2 separate regions of the Homo sapiens genome follow, and region 1 is linked to region 2. The links are contacts of gene promoters, found by promoter capture Hi-C in human tissues and cell types (Jung and others, 2019). All regions are on one chromosome and are shown on one strand. Each heading gives the region's core, a stretch centred on a gene start or on the middle of the fragment in contact. The rest is flanking DNA. Distances are from core to core; before and after follow the strand shown. Region 1 overlaps HMCES (5-hydroxymethylcytosine binding, ES cell specific). Region 2 holds the start of MCM2 (minichromosome maintenance complex component 2).

What was found. The method cuts DNA at HindIII sites, captures the fragments that hold promoters and counts their contacts. A contact is called where the count stands out against the background at its distance.
Region 1: a contact is called between a fragment that was not itself captured here and the fragment with the promoter of MCM2 in region 2, in 1 of the 25 tissues and cell types used here (stomach).

Annotation. Positions count from the first base shown.
Region 1 is chr3:129,299,953-129,302,652 of GRCh38, reverse strand. HMCES (5-hydroxymethylcytosine binding, ES cell specific) reads right to left here. Exons shown (of 7, transcript NM_020187.3): 6 at 511-703. Among named protein-coding and RNA genes, the nearest start is that of H1-10-AS1, 15 kb to the left of the region's middle. The HindIII fragment of the contact is 3,010 bases long and covers 1-2,700 here.
Region 2 is chr3:127,596,785-127,599,660 of GRCh38, reverse strand. MCM2 (minichromosome maintenance complex component 2) reads right to left here and starts at 1,250. Exons shown (of 16, transcript NM_004526.4): 1 at 1,189-1,250; 2 at 114-343. The coding sequence starts at 1,194. It also overlaps a transcript of TPRA1 not described here. RefSeq lists a silencer at 952-1,111 and enhancers at 1,142-1,261, 615-1,572. The HindIII fragment of the contact is 12,111 bases long and covers 1-2,876 here.

The DNA.
Region 1 (2,700 bases), core at 110-2,609, 1.7 Mb before region 2:
CTCCACCTCCCAGGTTCAAGTGATTCTCCTGCCTCAGCCTCCCAAGTAGCTGGGATCACTACTTGGGACGGGCCACCACACCCAGCTAATTTTTGTATTTTTAGTAGAGACGGGGTTTCACCATATTGGCCAGGATGGTCTCGATCTGTTGACCTCGTGATCCACTTGCCTCGGCCTCCCAAAGTGCTGGGATTACAGGCGTGAGCCACTGCGCCCAGCCTGAAGCTTCTTAATTATACAAAAGTCCAAGCCTAGCTCTAAATGTTGATTCAGGATGTCTAGATAGGGTCTAGCATTTACATTTTGAAAGAGTTCTTCTCCTGGGGACTCTGAGTCACAGCCAGGTTTGAGAATTGCTGCTCTACACTACCTTGCTGTGTACAAGGAGTATGAGAGCTTTTGATGGTCCAAATTAAAGGGCTGATCATAAAAGGCCACATCCTGAAAGAAAGAGAACACTGACAGAAGACAGAAAGCTCAAAAAGGACTGTACCAGTCACAGGCCCCTACCTTTTTGACCACCAAGTCGACAGGAGCCAGACACTCAGGAGTGTTGTTTCGCGAGTTGTTCACCACAGAAGAGACTGCATGGAAGGTGATGTTCTCTGTTGGGTGGATTAATTTCAGAGCTTCCTGAGTTGAGACTTCACCAAAGTCAAGCCATTTAGAAACTGCCTCCTCTCCATCTAATATGGCAGGCATCCTGGCCAGGGAAGTTAAGACAATGGTTGGGAGAGGTAGCATGAGAATAAGGAGAGAAGGGAGAGAGACTTGAGTCAGCTGATACCTCAAATATCACAAGGGGAGCTTGCCCTCCCTCTGCGCCTCACATGCTGATTGCTGCCATGTGTTCCCTGAGCACAGGGTGACAGGGCACCAGATTCAACACCTGGAGAGCCATGTTATAAAGTTTCATGGCAAAGACAGTGAAGAGTACTAACTGGTCTAGTGTACTCCAGTGTCCACTCTAGTAAATTGGTAAACTTTCTATGACACCCCAGCCTAGAATGAAGGGAAAATAGATCTTGAAAACTTGTCTATCAACAGCAATCTCAAGCCTCACCACCTCTGAAAGACTTACAGTAAGAAAATTGTGAACAAAAGGAAGCCATGCGTCAGAAAAGCAGAGAAGCTGTCAAACATGACTCCTGGTACCCAGAGGATGTAAGGAAAATATACTAGGTTTAGCTTCCAGTTTTATGTCCCAGGCCAATGCAGTGTGGCACACACTTTTTGGGTGGTACAGTTGATTCAGATACAGACAAATGTTCATTTGTCTCCTAAATATATACATAACATATAAAATAATGTTAAATACTGTAATGTATAAAATAATGGTACATTTTTAAATGAATGGTGATTTAGATTAAATGAAATATAATTTTTAAAGGTTAATTACTAAAAGAGAACTACATCACATGAAAGCATATTTTTTTTTTTTTCTTCTTTTTTTTTTTTTTTGAGACAGAGTCTTGCTGTGTTGCCCAGGCTGGAGTGCAGTGGCGTGATCTCCACTCACTGCAAGCTCCACCCCCCGGGTTCATGCCATTCTTCTGCCTCAGCCTCCTGAGTAGCTGGGACTACAGGCACCCACCACCATGCCCGGCTAATTTTTTTTTTTTGAGATGGAGTCTCACTGTGTTGCCCAGGCTGGAGTTCAATGGCATGATCTCGGCTCATTGCAAGCTCCACCTCCCGGGTTCACGCCATTCTCCTGCCTCAGCCTCCCAAGTAGCTGGGACTACAGGCAGCCGCCACCACGTCTGGCTAATTTTTTGTATTTTTTAGTAGAGACAGAGTTTCACCGTGTTAGCCAGGATGGTCTCGATCTCCTGACCTCATGATCCACCCGCCTCAGCCTCCCAAAGTGCTGGGATTACAGGTGTGAGCCACCGCGCCTGGCCATTTTTTTGTATTTTTAGTAGAGATGGGGTTTCACAGTGTTCGCCAGGATGGTCTTGATCTCCTGAACTCGTGATCCACCCACCTCGGCGTCCCAAAGTGCTGGGATTACAGGTGTGAGCCACTGCGCCTGGCCACATGAAAGCATATTTTCACAGATATAGCCTAGGACAAGGCTAAAGCAGGTAATCCTGACAGGTGTCACACTGCATTCTTTTCAGGAGAACTCCAAAAAATCACTTCAGGGAGTACTCAGCTCTGGCAGAAAGTATAAAGGTAGAATACAAGTATAGTCAGTTCTGCCAATGCTTATGTTTAAAATGCAAATCTGTTCCAATGCCACTGATACAGTAGAGAGCAATTGGAGCACAATGCAAATTTTGTGTTTGCTTATGCACAGTTTCATCTGTGAGAAACACAAGGTGAACACAGAAAACTGCACCCAGATGAACTGAGCCACAAAATGCACCCATCTCAAACACTGACTGCTACTTTGGCTCACTGCATACTATTTTACAAAATTGTGTTTTGCTCTTCTTTTGCCTTTCTGAACTTTTCTATATATATATATATATATATATATAAAGATGCACATTTAACATCTCAAACATGTCTAAGCTTCCTGGCTCAAAACATGGTAGGCAATGCATGTGAATGGAGACATTTTAAATATTGAAAAGAAGCTTGAAATAGTAAAAGATCCTGGAAGAAAAATGAGAACATGTGATTATTTCCTGAGCAAAGGATATCAAGGAGTCCACATCAGTGATGATGCTACAAAAAAAAAATGACCATGGC
Region 2 (2,876 bases), core at 1-2,500:
AGGCAAGAATGCCATCGATTCATCTGCTCCCAGCTCCCAAAGCCAGGCCACCAGGCACACAATGGGCTCTCTGCAAAACTATCTGCTGAGTCCAGGGCCTTGAATGAAATTACCTTTCCATGCCATCTCCAATGAGCTCCTCTCCATCCTCTTCTTCCTCCAGGGGCCCCTCTGTGCCTAGGAGCCCCTCGGACTCATCCTCAAATGGTGGAAGGTCACGGCCAGGGCTGGAGGTGAGGGCATCAGTACGCCGGGAGCTTCGGCCAGGGCTGGAGGTGAGAGGATCATTGCCTCGCCGACGCTGGGCCGGGCTGGATGCCATGGTGAAGGATTCCGATGATTCCTGCAAGAGAAGGTGCGGTTGTCAGAAACCTAGGAAGCTGGTGAGGCATGATACAGCTTCCTTTTTACCATCAGGGGCCTTCCCTTCTTTCTCTCCACCTGTGACTCTTGTCCTCCAACACACCAAACCCCTTCCAGCCTCCAGATCTTTGCCCTTGCTGTTCTCTCACCTGGAATGCTCTCAGCTGAGCAATCTGAGTCAGTGGCTTCCAAACAAATAGAAGCCAGCTCAAATATCGGGGTCACCCACATCACCGTGCTTTCTCCATGAAAAACCACTGAGGTTATGTCATTTGCCTATTTACCTGTTTACTGTCTATTATCTCCCCTTAAGCATTAGACCTATTTCAGCACACACAGTGCGCAAGGTATTGTGATAGAGATGGCATAGAAGAGCCACCAAAACAAGAGGTCTGGAACTCAGATGTGGAACAGACAGTATACAAGACAAAGGGACAAGAAGGTAATACAAAAGTAAGTGTAGTGTTTGGAACAAGGATCATTGGGAAATTAAAAAAAAAAAAAGTTTAAAGGAGTGTAGTGAAATGGGGGCCTGTCTTTTGTACGCTCAGCGCCACACAGATGGCGCCCAATAAGTATGTGTGGGGTGAATAAAGGACAGAGGCTGAACGGGCCGAGCTCGCCTTAGGGAGCCCAGGGCCCCAGGTCAGTGGTAGGTAGGCGAGTCGCCTCACGCAGGGTGCAGGCGAGAAAGTAGCTGCGCCCCAGAGCCTGGGGCCCAGCCTCACCCAGAGCGCCGCCCTGGGCCGGGGCCAGAGTACGGGAAGCGCGCAGCCTCCGCACCCATGTCCCCGGCGCCCGCCCGCCACGCGCCAGCGCGCTCACCGCCATAGCAGTACCACGATCCTCTCCGCCACTACAGCAACAACCAGGTTTCGCGCGAAAAGTGGTTCACGTGACCCACCAAAGCCCGGGAAGAGCCCTACGGAACGCGACGTCATGACGTCGGCGTCCACTGGCGACCAGAAGGGACACGGAGGGGCGGGCCAGAGGGTCCGGTCCCGCCTACAACGCCCGAGGCGCTCCGCCCAGAGCCCGGAGGTGTGCGGCCCGGCGCTGTGCGCGTGCGCTCGCCTGCGCTGTGGTGGGAGCTGGAGCGGAGGTAGAAGCTGAGGCTCCAGGGGACCCGACGACACTTGCTGGCTGCGTGACCTCGGTCACACCAGGGCCATTTTGCTGACAAGACAACAGAGGCCGGGCGCGGTGGCTCACGCCTGTAATCCCAGCACTTTGGGAAGCCGAGGTGGGCGGATCACAAGCTCAGGAGTTCGAGACCAGCCTGACTAACATGGTGAAACCCAGTCTTTACTAAAAATACAAAAATTAGTTGGGCATGGTGGCACGGGCCTGTAATCCCAGCTACTCGGGAGGCTGAGGCAGAAGAATCGCTTGAACCTGGGAGGTGGAGGTTGCGGTGAGCCGAGATCCCGCCACTGCACTCCAGCCTGGGTGACAGAGTGAGACTCCGTCTCAAAAAAAAAAAAAGACAGCAGAGGTTCAGAGCCTGGTTTTCTGACGCTTCTTACCGTCTTAGGAGCACAATGGTTTAACTTCTCCCAAAGCTCAAAGGCTCAATACTTCAAGCAGCTGGACAACTCTGGGATTTTGTAGGAGGTCACATCTGAGGCTTTAGTAGGAGTTATCTTTGCCCAGGGGAGCGAAGACGCAGGGAGGATGTTACAGATAGAAGGATGCCATGTGCAAAGCTGCAGAGGTCATGGCAGGGCCCGGATGTGCAAGCCCCTCCCTAAGAACTAACCCTAGGAGCTTATGATGCCGGGCAACAGACAAGACTTGAGGGAGAGAAAATCCGGATCAAAAAAGAGCTAGATGTTTTTCTAGAGAGTTTGACTATTCTGTATTCTGAAAGCAATGGAAGGCCATGGAAGCATTTTGAGCAGGGTGAGACGTGAACTAGTGTGGGTTTTAGAATCCCTCTGGCTGCTACCAGGTGGAAGTGGATTGAACGAGGTTGAAGGCAGCAAACGAGGAGGTTGCTGTGGTTCTTGTCTAGTTCCAGGCAGCCTTAGTGAGCAGAGGCAGGGCTGAATCGCAACCCTCTTAGCCAGGCACTTTGTGCAGTGAACAAGCATCTCTGCCTGGGACCCAGGGTAGGGAGGCAGGAGTGATGGAGAGAACTGGAAATACAAGATGTTTAGGAGGTGGAATCTTTTTTTTTTTTTTGAGACAGAGTCACTCTGTCACCCAGGCTGGAGTGCAGTGGTGCAACCTCAGCTCACTGCAACCTCCACCTCCCAAGTTCAAGCGATTCTCGTGCCTTAGCCTCCCGAGTAGCTGGGATTAGAGATGCACGCCATTGTGCCCGGTTAATTTTTGTATTTTTAGTAGAGATGGGATTTCACCATTGTTAGCTAGGCTGGTCTCCAACTCCTGACAAGTGGATCCGCCTGCCTTGGCCTCCCATAGTGCTAGGATTACAGGCGTGAGCCACCACGCCCGGCCAGGAAGTGGGGTCTATAGGTGTTGGTGATTGAGGACAGCAAAAGAGGCAT